3 separate regions of the Homo sapiens genome follow, and all the other regions are linked to region 2. Evidence: promoter capture Hi-C in 16 types of primary human blood cells and fetal thymus (Javierre and others, 2016). All regions are on one chromosome and are shown on one strand. Each heading gives the region's core, a stretch centred on a gene start or on the middle of the fragment in contact. The rest is flanking DNA. Distances are from core to core; before and after follow the strand shown.

What was found. Contacts are between HindIII fragments. The CHiCAGO score rates a contact against its expected background, and 5 or more counts as called.
Region 1: a contact is called between a fragment that was not itself captured here and the fragment with the promoter of HNRNPDL in region 2, in 1 of 17 cell types (fetal thymus). The highest score is 8.3, in fetal thymus.
Region 3: a fragment that was not itself captured here is called in contact with the fragment with the promoter of HNRNPDL in region 2 in 1 of 17 cell types (total CD4 T cells); the score reaches 5.1 in total CD4 T cells.

Annotation. Positions count from the first base shown.
Region 1 is chr4:77,149,774-77,154,655 of GRCh38, forward strand. It overlaps the pseudogene RNU6-1187P. Among named protein-coding and RNA genes, the nearest start is that of CCNG2, 5.0 kb to the right of the region's middle. RefSeq lists an enhancer at 2,821-2,870 and a silencer at 4,581-4,650. The HindIII fragment of the contact is 2,089 bases long and covers 2,306-4,394 here.
Region 2 is chr4:82,428,720-82,433,440 of GRCh38, forward strand. HNRNPDL (heterogeneous nuclear ribonucleoprotein D like) reads right to left here and starts at 1,743. Exons shown (of 8, transcript NM_031372.4): 1 at 529-1,743. The coding sequence starts at 971. ENOPH1 (enolase-phosphatase 1) reads left to right here and starts at 1,871. Exons shown (of 6, transcript NM_021204.5): 1 at 1,871-2,194. The coding sequence starts at 2,111. RefSeq lists silencers at 192-361, 672-911, 1,282-1,681, 1,802-2,121 and enhancers at 407-1,202, 582-641, 962-1,051, 1,203-1,998, 2,362-2,461. The HindIII fragment of the contact is 3,206 bases long and covers 1-2,603 here.
Region 3 is chr4:75,666,984-75,671,775 of GRCh38, forward strand. All of the region lies in intron 1 of G3BP2 (G3BP stress granule assembly factor 2), which reads right to left. Among named protein-coding and RNA genes, the nearest start is that of G3BP2, 4.0 kb to the right of the region's middle. The HindIII fragment of the contact is 4,261 bases long and covers 1-3,427 here.

The DNA of each region.
Region 1 (4,882 bases), core at 2,100-4,599, 5.3 Mb before region 2:
TCTCCTATCCCACATGCTCTTGTTATAAGGTGATTGACACATCCCTCATTGAGAAGTGGAATCTACGTTCCCTGTCTTTGAACCTGAGTAGATGTGACTGTGGCTGAAAGGATGTTGTAGTTGACAGAATAAAGGTCCCTCAAAAATGTCCACATCCTATTCCTCACCAGCTGTGAATATGTTATGTAATATAGCAAGATGGAATTAAGGTTGCAAATCTGCTGACCTTTTTTTTCTTTTCTTTTCTTTTCTTTTCTTTTTTTTTGAGACAGGGTCTTTCTCTGTCACCCAGCCTAGAGTGCAGTGGTGTGAACATGGCTCACTGCAACCTTGACCTGGACTCAAGTGATACTCCCACCTCAGCCTCCCAAGCTGAGACTACAAGTGCATGCCACCATGCTTGGCTAATTTTTAAAATTTTTGTAGAGAAAACGTCTTGCCATGTTGCCCAGGCTGGTCTAGAAGCCCTGGGCTCAGGCAATCCTCCCATCTCGGCCTCCCAAAGTGCAGGGATTACAGACATGAGCCACCATGCCCAAACTTTTCTTTTTCTTAAAAATACGGAACACTTCATAAATTTGCCTGTCATCCTTGCATGGGGGCCATGCTAATCTTCTCTGTAACATTCCAATTTTAATATATGTGGCCAGGCGTGGTGGCTCACGCCTGTAATCTCAGTACTTTGGGAGGCTGAAGCGGGCAGATCACCTGAAGTCAGGAGTTCAAGACCAGCCTGGCCAAGAGGGCAAAACCCTGTCTCTGCCAAAAATACAAAAATTAGCTGGGCGTGGTGGTGCACACCTATAATCCCAGCTACTTGGGAGGCTGAGGCAGGAGAATCCCTTGAACCCAGGAGGCAGAGGTTGCAGTGAGCCGAGATCGTGCCACTGCACTCCAGCCTGGGTGACAGAGTAAGACTCCATCTCAAAACAAACAAACAAACAACAAACAACCCCCCCCACACACAAAAAAAACAACAAAAAAACAATTTTAATATATGTGATGCTGAAGCAAGCACCAGCTGACGTTGAGATGGTGAGACTATACTGGACTATTCAGGTGGGCCCAATGTAATCACTAAGGTCCTTATAGCTGGAAGTGGGAGGCAGAAGAGTCAGAGTCAAGAGAGATCTGGAGATGCCATGATGCCGGCTTTAAAGATGGAGGAAGAGCCACAAGCCAAGGAACGCAGGTGGCCTCTAGATGGTGGAAAAGGCAAGAAAATGAATACTCTCTAGAGCCTTCAGAAGGACTGCAGCCCTGCTGACACCTTGATTTTAGCCCAGTGAGACCCATTTTGAACTTCTGACCTCCAGAACTGTAATATGATAAACATTTGTTGTTTTAAATCCCTAAATTTGTGGTAATTTCCTAGACCATCAGTGTGAAATTAATATAGATGCTATCTGACTGCCAAGGCTGGTTTGTAAAAGGAGACACAGTGTTCACCTGATTTTCTTCAGGCCCTGCCACCATGCCATGAGGAAATGGAAAGACCACGTGGAGTGGTCACATATAAATGTTCCAGCCACCAGCCTCAGCAGAGGTCCCAGCCCACAGTCAGCAACAACTCCAGACACGTGAGTGGCAGCAAGATGATGCCAGCCGCAGTTACCATCTGATTACAACTTCATAAGAAACCCTGAGCAAGGGCTGCCCAGCTGAGTTCAAGCAACGCCCCAGACCTGTGGGTGATGATAATAAAATTATTGTTGTTTTGAGTCACTAAGTTTTGGGTGATTCATTGTACAGCAGTAGATAGCCGAAGCAGTCAGTATGTAACAACTGTTTAAAATTTACACTTTGTCTTGAATTGTCTCGTTTTAAATAAGTATTCACTTTCATATCTAATTTTGTATTTGTAAATTCTTTTTTTCCTAGAGAGAGCCCCTCCAAATAGTAAAGCTTCAAATGTACTACCTTAAATCTGGTTCTACTTCTGCATGTAGCCACAATTTCTTATTCAGAATGTGGTTGAAAACATAAAAATATACGTAATTAAACAGACCTGAGGATCTTTGATATAAAGCAGTCTTTCTTTTTTTCTGAGACGGAGTCTCGCTCTGTCACCAGGCTGGAGTGCAGTGGCGTGATCTTGGCTCACTGCAACCTCCACTTCCCAGGTTCAAGTGATTCTCCTGTCTCAGCCTCCCAAGTAGCTGGGACTACAGGTGTGTGCCACCACACCCAGCTAATTTTTGTATTTTTAGTAGAGACAGGGTTTCAACAGCAGTCTTTCTTTTTAAAGTTAAAAAAAAAATTTCATTTTGAAAACACTTTAAAATGTTAACAGAAGCAAATTTTAAGCTTATACCACTTATCCATATCACTTTAAACATCAATTGCCTTTTCATTTGAGATAAAAAAAGAGATCATGACTCTCACAGACAGTAAAACTTCTTTTGGAAATAAGATGATACATTCAACAGATGTATCCTAAGTTACTCTTTGCTGACAGTGTCAACTTCATATAGCACTGTGATGTCAAGGAAAGACAGGAAATCTCTGAGTTAGGTCATGGTTCTTGAAACAAACCATGAAAGAAAAATGTGTTACATAAAGAATCATGTACAATGTACCAGAATGTAGCCTGAGCCACTTAAAATATATTTTAAGATGATTTTGAGATGATTAGTTCTGATTTCAGGCATTGCCGAATTCTCAGTTCACTCTCCTTTGCCAGGCTTTTCACATTATGTCAAAGCTACTTCATTTATTTCAGTTGATTATTCGTGTAAAAGAGAGAGCACTGGATAACAAAGTACTGAGTCGGGCTTCAGAGTCAACCGAGCATTTAGTTCTCAAGTTCTCAGGTTGCAGAGATAGTTCCTACAAGGCTACTCTCTTGCAGGCTAGTAGAACTGGGAGGGACTAAAGTGGCTGGCTGGAAAAACTGGTCCTCTTGCTGTAGTCATTCAGATGGTGTCTACAGTGTGGATAATTTCCACAATTCCAAAGCCAACCCTACGTAGATAAACACTATGAATGTTTATGAATATGGCCAACCCTTGCATAAACACTCTTCCAAAAAAACAGGGCATGCTTCTAGCATTAACAACAAAAGCAACAAAATATATAGTAAATGGATTGTAAAATGTTGATTTCAAATTTGAGATGGTCTTGTTTGTGGGAAAATCAGAAAGGAGAATATATGAGATGTTTCACTGACTTATTCTGCTGATTGCTTGAAGACAGAGATTAATCATCTGCTATATAAATCATCTCATTCTTCCAGGTTCTGATTTAAAAATGAGCTCTTGGTTGAAAAATCTGCATTACTTCAAGATAGCACCCTATGCTACTATGCTATACCTTCCCTGTTTCTCTTCCTCAGAGAGGCATTCCTGTCTCCATTGCAGGTTCTGTGAAGCAAGACTTATCTAAGCAGGAAGTTTGGGGCTGCAAACCACTTTTTTTTTTTTTTTTGAGACAGGGTTTTGCTCTGTTGCCCAGGCCAGAGTGCAGTGACATGATCATGGCTCACTGTAGCATAGACCTCCCAGGCTCAAGCAATCTTCTTGTCTCAGGCTCACATGTAGCTGGGACTACGGGTGCATGCCACCACGCCCAGATAATTTTTAAAATTTTTTGTAGAGATGAAGTCTCGCTATGTTGCCCAGGCTGGTCTTGAACTCCTGGGCTCAAGTGATCCTCCCACCTCAGCCTCCCAAAGTGCCGGGATTCCAGGTATGAACCACTGTGCTCAGCCTAATGACAGAAAACAGCCCAGGCAGGGACCCAGCAATAGTGAGTAGACGGGGAGGGGGAGTATGGCCTCATGTCAGCTTTACGTATCCTTATCCTCAGGTTCTTTCCTTTCAGGGCTGCTTTCCACCAGACTTCTTTGATGAGGTTAGGGATGATCCCTTCCTTTCCCTTCATGAAGTCACAACATGGTGCAGCCTAGAAATATATAGCTAGTTGCTTTCACAAATGTTTGTATTCAGTCATCACATATGAAGCAGACACAACTACCTCTGGCTTTTTGTTTTCCTCAGTTTAGAAAGCTGAGGCTCAAGACCATGGGAATTATTCAGGGTATTCAAGGCACCATTTCTAATGAGTAGGAAAGCTGAGACACAAAGCCAGTTTGATCCATGGCCAGTGCTTTTGCCCTACACCTCAGACATACCAGGGTATATGCTGGGGCCTTGTTTTATTTATGTATTTTTGTATTCCTGGTGCCTAGTAGCATGCCTGGCACTCAGTGTGTATTCACTAAATTTCGATTGAATAAAAAGCTAGGATTTATTGTCAAAAACCATATCTTTGAGGAGAAAGATGATATTTGGAAAATTGTAGCAATTTTGATGCCTTATGAAGTTCAGGGAAGTCTAAGTCATTTAGGGAAGCACTGCAACTGTCCCATGAGAGTGCCCTATTTTCAAGGTAGAAGCTTAAGTGTGAGCAGGTTTGCAGCACACTTGTCAGGAGTCAGGGATTCACTGAATGTAGTCAGTGTTTCTGTGTGGGCACTCCCTGCTTATTACCCATTCTGTGAGCACCTTTTAGTTTCAGTCTCACATGTCACTGAGGACAATGGGCTGCACATCAGGCTTTCATGGGGTTATTGGTGACAGTATCACCCAACCCCACTGCACCCCTACCACATGCTGTAGAAAACCAAGTATCTTAAATTGTCTGGAAGTTCTTGGGGGCTGCCAAGTTTCTGATTTCCTTATTTTGTATGTGTGCATGATACAGGAAATTTGCCTTCCAGAAAGCTCAGGAAAGGCTAATGGGTAAAGCCTGATTAGCCTAAGGGGAATAATGTCTTTTTCATAAATAACACTTTCAGCTCCGGCAAGGTAAGCCAATGTGATAAGGACAAATAGAATGAGGAGAATTTTTTTTTAAAAGATATATTAACAAACAAAAAATT
Region 2 (4,721 bases), core at 493-2,992:
AAGGCACAACTTCCTAGATGAATCCCTCACATCTTATCTTACTTAGGTCCATCTTCGTTCTCAGCTGTCAAGCCAACGTTCCACCCAGAGAACTCATCAATCATAACACGTTTTGTGAATCTGGGTACCAGTCGCCTGCTTGTGCCCCAACTCAGTCCTCTAAAACTCTTCCCAGGAAAACCGCGCCGAGTGGTAACAGAGACACAATGAAGAGGCGGCGGCAGCTGCAGCGTGCAGCGCTGGGAGGCCGGCCCCTCCCCCCCGGGTCCCACGCGGCGCCTGCGCGCTCGGGACACAGACGCCGCCGCCCTCCTCCTCCAACCCCTCCGCCCTTCCCCCACTCTTCCCGGGTCTCTCCAGTCACCCCCTCGATCTCTTACTTTCCTCTTCCCTCCAATCTAGTGGGGCCCAGAAGGCACGCGGGGAATCGACTCTGAGAAAGAATGGGGGCAGCGCGCGGCTCACGAGGAACGAAGGGCGCGTGCGGCGCGCTGGGGGAGGGGGAGCGGGGGAAGAAGCGTGCGGTACCCGTCATCCTGCTGATTCTTGCTCGCGTTGATCTTGGATCCCTCTGCGAATTCCTCTATATTGCTGTACTCGTTCATATCCTCCATAGTGACGGAGCTGTCGGCAGGGGGGTGCTGGCGCGCAGTCCGGGTCGCGGCAGCAGCGGCGGCGGAGCGTTGTATGGAGCTGGATTTAAAATGGCGGCGGAAGAGATCCGGGCGCCGCCTGCGCCCTCCCTTTATAGCCGCCCCGCCCGCCAATCGGGAGGGCTGCTGGGCGGTGACGTGGCGCTGGGCCCGGCGCGCCCCCTGCCGGGCGGAGCTGGGAGCGAGCGAAGGGAGGAGCGGGGCTAGCTGCCGCGGCGGCCGCGGCCGCCAATGGGAGAGGCTGCGGGAGGCTAAAGTAGCGGGAGCGGAGGGGAACAATGGCGGCGGCACATGGGAAAGCCTGGGCGGGACCTCCATCGCGGCCCTCCCGGCAAGGAGAGAGGCCACGCGTGAGGGGACGCGGGCTTGGGAGAAGAGAAGAATCAGAAGAGAAAAACGAAGGGGCGTAAATTCCTGGGGTCAGCAGTCCCGAGCAGAGCCGACGCAGGGCCACAGTCCCTCTTGCCTTGGGAGCCTTTGTCTCTGGCGTCCGGTCCAGCCCACTCCTACCAAAAAGCCGTCAACCCCGCCTTTTTCTGCCCTCGGTTCGCCAGTGCGGAGCCGCTGCGGCGGCCGCTGCTACCGACTAGCACCGCGGCCAGTCTGCTCCGGAAAAAGGCGGACTGCGCCCGGCGCTGGCGACTGAGGCGGCGAGCGCGCTCGCCCGCCGCGCGCACGCGTGTTTTGTCCTCGAGCTGGCAGGAACCAGCCGAACAGGAAGCGGGCGCGCGACGGCTCCTCCGGGCAGCGCAGCGCGGGCGCCTCTTCCACTGTGACCACGGGCGCGCGGGCCAAGGGGGCGCGGCGGGGCCTCCCGGGCTGATCGGCCGAAGCCCGGGCCCCGCGCGGCCTCTGGCGGGCTGACGCCGGGAGGAGGGGCGGGGGCTGGCCAGATGACTGTATCTATGCAAAGGCGGAGGCGGTGGGCGGGGAGGGGGCTGGATTCAGTAGAGGGCAAGGGGCACTCACATCCCCGGCGCGCCACTCGCGGGGCTCCTTTCTGCACGTGCCCCGGGCCTCTCCCGCTCGCTCAACCTGTCTGCGGAGGGCGCGCTCTCGCGCACCCTGCTCCCGCGTTCGCTTCTTTGTTCCCGCCCACGCGAGGCCCATTTTGACGGATCCAGTTCGAGGCCTGACGGCGGCCAATCGGCGCTGGCGCCTTCACCCTCCCCGCCCCGCCGAACCCGTCAAGGGCCGCCCCTTTTCCTGCCCACGTGGTCTCGGGCTCCTGCCCCGTCCTGCTCACGAGTTCAGGGCTCCTGGGCGGCCGCCTTTTCCAGTTCCAGGTGTGCAGAAGTGTCCTCTCCCCACGCGCGGCGGGCTGCACTTGGTCGCTGGCTCCGAGATCGCGCGGGGCCGCCGGAAGCCCAAGACGGTACCGGGGGCCGCAGCCGCAGCCGGCGCCGCCCTCCGCCCTCCCCAACAGCAGGCCGAGTCCCGTAGCATCCGGTAGGGAAATGGTCGTGCTTTCGGTCCCCGCCGAAGTCACCGTGATCCTGTTAGATATCGAAGGTACCACAACCCCGATTGCTTTCGTGAAGGTGAGGGGCGGAAGGGAGCGGGGATGTTACTTTTCCTTAAAAACAGTTATTATTTTTTCTAAGTATTTCAGGCCTTGCATTGGAGACGAGGGTTAGGAGAGGCGGTGTGGCTGCCTCTTGTGTGGAATGGGGAGGAAGGAGAGAAAGCCTGCGGTGGGTTGCGGGGATGCTTTTCCTCGCGACACTAGCTTCTCCCTCCCCCGCCCTTGCGCTTGGTTGGATCCAGATGGGTGGGAAGGGATGGAAGTTGACGCTAAAAATCACCGAAGGGCAGGTAAGCCGGGGCGGGGTGTGACGGTGCGGGCCTCGCCACCCGGCAGGTGTGCACCCGGTCGCTTCCGCAGGTGAGCGCAGCCTTTCTGCTCCGTCGGGCCTGGTGTGGCAGCGGCAGCGATTTAATGGTCCTTAAAGCTTCCGATCTCAAAATGGAAAGACTGAAGTGTCAAGATGACTTTTCAGGTGGCCCTGGTGTCGGGCAATCAAGGTTCCTCTTCGCCCCTTCCCACTCTTGCTGTTAGTGGCCAAACTGCACAGTGTATTATTTTACTCTGTTAGGCGCTGTGGTCCATAGCGCTGATTTTTTGAGCTATAGGACACGTCTAGATTCCGTTCACTTTCCTCAGAAAACCACAGAAGCTTGAAGCTCTTATCCAGAGCATTCCTTCTAGGATGTCACTGTGAACCAGCACTTGTCTGCACCTCAGCTTGCAACTTAGCGGATTCCTTCTTTATTCTTTGTCTGTTAGAATAAGCAAATATGAAATGTTACTTTAATTTTTGAAAGAATTCCTCGGGCCTTGTCTTTTTATTTGGCTCCCTGAGGTTTAAGAATTCATTGCAGATACAAGTACTTCTTAGAGGTGCTTGCATGCACAATAATAGTCGAGATATACAAAGTATATTACCAAGTAGGAAAAATCCATCTTCCAAGAAACTGAGCAGCTTGGGTTTTAAATTCTATTTTAGTTTCCATTTTTAAAAAAAATTATCTGTGAATAAGGCTTTTTTTTTTTTTTCTTTGAGAGTCTCACTCTGTTCCCAGGCTGGAGTGGAGTGGAGTGGTGCAATCACAGCTCACTGCAGCCTCTACCTCCTTGGGCTTAAGGCATCCTCCTGCCCCAGCCTCTCGAGTAGTTGGGACTGAAGGGAGAGCCACCATGCCTGGCTAATTTTTGTATTTTTTGTAGAGACGGGGTTTCGCCATATTGCCCAGGCTAGTCTGGAATTCTTGGCCTCCCAAAGTGCTGAGATTACAGGCATGAGCCAAGGCGCCTGGCCTGAATGAGTTTCTTGATGTAGGTTATAATATAAAATCCATGTACACTTTTAGGACACCAAACATAACAACCTTTAAAATTCTTTTAGAAGAATCACAGTACCTTGACATCTTAGCATAGGTTCAGAAGAAATCGAGTTTAGCATTTTCTCCACGGTTTTTGTTTTTGTTTTGAGGCGGAGTCTCGCTCTGTTGCCCAGGCTGGAGTGCAGTGGTGTGAGCTCAGCTCACTGCAACCTCTGCCTCCCAGCTTCAAGCGATTCTTCTGTCGCAGCCTCTCCAGTAGCTGGGATTACAGACATGTGCCACCACACCCAGCTAATTTTTATATTTTTAGTAGAAGAGGGTTTCACCAGGCTGGTCTCAAACTCCTGACCTCAAGTGATTCACCCACCTCAGCCTCCCAAAGTGCTGGAATTACAGGCGTGAACCATGGCACCCGGCCTCTTCCCCACGTTTTGTTTTGTTTTGTTTTGTTTTGTTTGAGACAGAGTCTTGTTCTGTCTCCCAGGCTGGAATACAGTGGTGCAACCTCTGCTTCCGGGGTTCAAGCGATTCTGGTGCCTCAGCCTTCCGAGTAGCTGAGATTACAGACGCGCACCACCACGCCCGGCTAATTTTTGTATTTTTAGTTGACCAGGCTGGTCTGACCTCAGGTAATCCTCCCGTGTCGGCCTCCCAAAGTGCTGGGATTATAGGCGCGAGCCACCGCGCCTGACCTTCCCCCACGTTTTTAATCACACCAGAGACCTCTGCGGAAAATTTCAGGACAAATACTGATGATTGATTAATTTCCTTTTTTTTTGGATTGTGACAGAGTAACCGCTTTCTTGGTTTTCAGAGAAAAAAGGAGTCCTCATTTTTGTAATTTATAGTTAACAGCTCACTCGTTCCACTCTGGCTCTCTCTTGCTTTCTGCGGTCATCAGGAGACCAAGGATAAGGACAGGAGAGGTAGTGATGTGGCATTAGATCATTAGATACTACCGTTTTCTGAAGGTAGATTTGGGGAGTAAGAAACCTCATACAAAATCAATTTTGCAACAAAACATAATACCCCTCCCCCACCTTTTTCCCCAAGTGTGTCTTCTGCTAGATGACATTATGAGCCACTTCTTGGAATCTTTGTGTCTGTGGCAGACTTATTCTGAAATCCAAAAATAAAAATGTCTTAGTTGCCTAAATAAATTTTTCTGAATTTGACGCTAGGCAATGTGCAATTTCAATGCAGGCTGCAAAAGAATGATTTAGG
Region 3 (4,792 bases), core at 47-2,546, 6.8 Mb before region 2:
TTCTACAAAGATAGCCAAGAAGGCCTGGTGCAGTGGCTCACACCTGTAATCCCAATATTTTGGGAGGCCAAAGTGGGTGAATCGCTTGAGCTCAGGTGTTTGAGACCAGCCCAGGCAACATGGCAAAACCCCGTCTCTACTAAAAAATACAAAAAATTAGCGGGGCGTGGTAGTGTGCAAGCGTAGCTCCAGCTACTCGGGAAGCTGAGGTGGGAGGAATGCCTGAGCCCGGGAAGTCAAGGCTGCAGCGAGCCAAGATGGCACCACCGCACTCAAACCTGGGTAACAGGAGTGAGACACTGTTTAAAAAAAAAAAAAAAAAGATAGCCAAGATTAAAGGATACTTATACACAAAAAGAAATCTTTAGAAAGTTCTTAGATTAGCACCTTCAAAGATAACTACCATCTTCAATAAGGTGGTTGTTAGCCTCACCTAACAACCTTTTTAGAAAAAGTTAAATACAATATATCACACTCCACTTCTTCCAATGACACCTGAAAATGTGAAGAATCTCACACAGGAATGCACAGTGTAAAATTTTATCTGATACATTAGCTCTATACACAGTCAAAGCTCTCTCATGAACAAATCCGTCTTTTACTTGTCAAATGAAAACATTATCCAAGGCCAGGCGCAGTGGCTCATGCCTACTTCCCAGCACTTTGGGAGGCAATGGCAGGAGGATCACAAGGTCAGGAGATCGAGACCATCCTGGCTAACACAGTGAAAGCCCGTCTCTACTAAAAATACAAAAAATTAGCCAGGCCTGGTGGTACGCGCCTATAGTCCCAGCTACTCAGGAGGCTAAGGCAGCAGAATTGCTTGAACTCAGAGGCAAAGGTTGCAGTAAGCTGAGATCACACCCTTGCACTTCAGCCTGGGCAACAAGAGCGAAACTCTGTCTCAAAAAACAAAAAACCGAAAACATTATCCAGTATAGTTTAGAGGCTTTTTACTCTCCAACTCTGCCTATCGCACCTAAAATCCCAGTGAATCTTCATCAGAATATTTTATTCATTCCTGTTTCTTAAAATGTTTCCTCTGCATTTGCCTAATTCCTGAAGCACATGCACTTCAGCTCTCACGGAAAATTGCTCTATATTTGTCACCATATTTTCTGAATCTATTAATTATACACATTGAGAGAGAGTGGAGTATTGGTAGATAATACACACTGAGAGGGAGTGGAGCATTGGTAGACATACATGCAGATTAGAAAAGAAAGTCACATTGAGCTTCATTATCCTACAATGAACTTATATTTCCTCAGTTTCAAAATAACGTAAAAACCAAAGTTATCACTCTCCTTTCCTCAAACTTTGACTAAAACGTCACCTTTTAGGTAAGAAACATTTAGGTTTTTTGTTTACCATTTAAAGTTCAGTGAATCACTACTATAATGGGGCTGCCTCCAAAACAATCAATCTTAGGCTACATTAATTTAGATGTAATATCTAAAATGAGTTGATTGCTAATTGAATATAGTGAATGGAAATTATAAGAAGGTAGATTTGGGTGAAACATAACACAAGAATAACGCGAGTTGTCCAAATATCAAATAGAGCTACTTAACAAGTAGCCAGTCACTACAGGTATTCCAGAGACTAACTGAATGGTTTGGCACAAACATAGTAGAGTCCATACATCCAAAAAAGTAAGATTAGGCCATTCCAACACTAAGATCCTAAAAGTCTGTTAACAAGAAGCAGGACTTTTGACTTCTCCTCCAATACTCATCTCACACCTTCCTATCTGCAATGATTGAAACCCTATGCATTTATCTGGGCCCAGCAGAAATCCTGTCCCCTTGAAAATCTTTCTACTCCTACTGAATTCCTCAACAGAATATAACTCTTCTCTATTAACTCTTAAAGCACTTTTGGCCTTTATCATAGCAGTTTATTGATCATGCTCTGCCCTAAATTACTAACTGTACACCTGTCTTCATCTTCTATTCCCCTCTCAAATATTATAACTCAGCTCTCCTTTGAATGCAATTCTCTGGAAACATCACAATTCTTCTCAATAATCGAATGACTTCTCAATCCTCCACCCATCTGCATTATCAATGTTGACTACCTCCTCCTAACTCTTCTAGAGTTCTATAAGGCAAATTTTCCTTCTCATCCAAACGCAGAATTTCTCAAGGTTCTGTCTTCTAACCTGGCAATTTCAGCTTCTGGTCTCATGTCTACCTAAACGTGTATCTAGTCTATACCATAAGTTCAAATTTTACATTTGTCACCACATACTGAACACCTAGACATGACCCACATATGTCCCAATACACGCATGCACCAAAGAAAGCTATTTCCTTATTTCTGTTAAAAGTGTCATAATCTTCTCAACTTGAAAGCTCAGTCGTGACTTTCTCCCCTTTAGCTTTGCCACTTAAACTGTGAAATCCTTACAATTCAGAAGGTGGAATTTGTGCCCTCCTTTTCACTCCCACTGTTCAGACCTTTTATTCTTCAAAAGTCTTTCAAGCCCCTGTATCACGTGTAGTATATACTGTACTGAGTAAAATCCAAACACCTGCATTCAGTTTGGCATCTAAGGCCCTACACAGAAATCCAGTCTGACATTCAATGTCATAACCAACCTTTCAAATTTATCTCCTACTATACTTTCTCATCCCTGTATCAAATTCTATACAAATATTTTAATCACCTAATATTATTCTCTGCAATTTCACTCTCTGCGCCTTTGTCTTACTTCATTCATTCCCATCCACAAGCTGAGTCAATGGGTTATACAAAATAAATTCATTTCAACATTTATTTTATGGCTACTATGTATGTACCAGAAACTACAAAAGGAAAAAGAGGCCGGGTGCAGTGGCTCACGCCTGTAATTCTAGCACTTCGGGAGGCCGAGATGGGTGGATCACCTGAGGTCAGGAGTTCGAGACCAGCCTGACCAACATGGCAAAACCCATCTCTACTAAAAACACAAAAAAGTTAGCCGTGTGCAGTGGCGGGCGCCTGTAATCCCAGCTACTCAGGAGGCTGAAGCAGGAGAATCGCTTGAACCCGGGGGCGGAGGTTGCAGTGAGCTGAGTTGTAAGTACTTGGTATTAGTTATTATAAAAAGAATAAGACCTCTAGTAATAGGAGGCAGTTCTCTTTACCAGATACTGTTACCAAAGGTTATGTGGGTGCTAAGACACAGCTTATCTCCACTATAGGATACTTACCCCTTTCCCCTCTGGAGTCCCTCACTCATAGCTGGGCTCAAACTAGTCAGGTTTATTTATTTTAATTGAACCATGGACTATATCCATTTCCAACAGCTAAATGCATATTAATACTGGAACTTTCTGAAATTCCAGATGGTTTTTGTTTGAAGTAACTTAAACAATCTAAGGAACACTATACCTTTTTAAAGAAATGACCTTCAATCTTTTGTGGTACACCATTGAATGAAAGCTTCACAAAGAAGATCTAAGAATCATAGTGGTACAAATAAATAATAAAAGTAAGTTATGGATTAAATCTCTTATTCAGGCTCCAAAAGGTGTTTTTGTTTTCTGTCCTTCTCAGAAGTTGAGGGAGGCTAGTTTTAAAATTCAGAAGCTATTAAAAGTGACCAAGCAGTAAGAAATGGAAATGCTTGCTGTCCACAAAAATAAAGCATGTATTTATACTATGTTTTAAAGTTTAACAAGTAACCTACTATTTTCTTTTGTCTTTAAAATAGATAGGGCATTATCTTCATTTACAGAAAAGGATGTTTAGAGAGCCTAAGGAAAGGTGTTTGGGGTTCCTCAGTTACAGTAAAAAGAAAGAGGATTTGAAATCAGGTCTCCTGACTCCTGACTCAACTGATGTTTTCATTACACTTTGGTTAGGAACAACCGCTTTGGAAGAGCAGCCAGCTCTTCCAACAATACAAAAAATTAATTTTAAACAAGCAATTGTTAGCTTATGTGAAACTGTTGAGAAGAGTGAAAAGCAAAGGAATACAGCAGGACAGCAACAGAAAATCCAAGAATAATTTTCAATATACCTATGGTTTCAAGATAGGGTAAAATACTTGGAAATTAGCAGATAAAAGTAAGCAGAAACACGACAGTCAAGAAACTAATTCTATTGCTTCTGAAGGTAGGCCAGGACCTTCCTGAAGGTGGGTGGACCAATTTATTCTATCGGATATAAAACAAGTGTCTACCAGTGGAGAGTAACTAGGTCATGTTTGTCCATTAAATTCTACTGAATTTAAGTTCAGACGCAACACTTTAGTTTGTGCCTTTCAAAATCAACATTGAAAAGGAGTCATTCACTGTCTCCATATTCACTCAAAATATGTGGAAAGTCTTTTTAAAGCAATCTAGGGGGAAAATGTTCAATCCTAATTATGCGTAATAAACAGCGATAATTTTGCAGGATAAGGAGGGAAGTTTTCAGAATCTAAAGACACAGTGCCAACACTTTCTTCAAACCAGGAGTTGCCTGCTGACAAATCAACTGCTCAGCTGCTAACTGAACAGTTAAGTTAGTTACTCTACGAAATGGTCAAATAATGTGTTTTCTTCTTTACCTTCTAATTTTTATCCCCATCCATCCCACAAGCATTCTGGTTCACTCTTGATGTTTTTTCACTATTACTAATATTTCGACCCTGAATATCAATCTGAACTATGACAGCTCTTAGTAAGAAATTCATTCTAGGTCCTTATTATTCCTACAATTCCTTGACTGCTTTTCAGAATTAGTTTGTAAAGATTAAATCATAACATAAAGGCCCATAAGAGTAATCTTAAACATTTAAGAAAAATGTTACTGCCAAAGA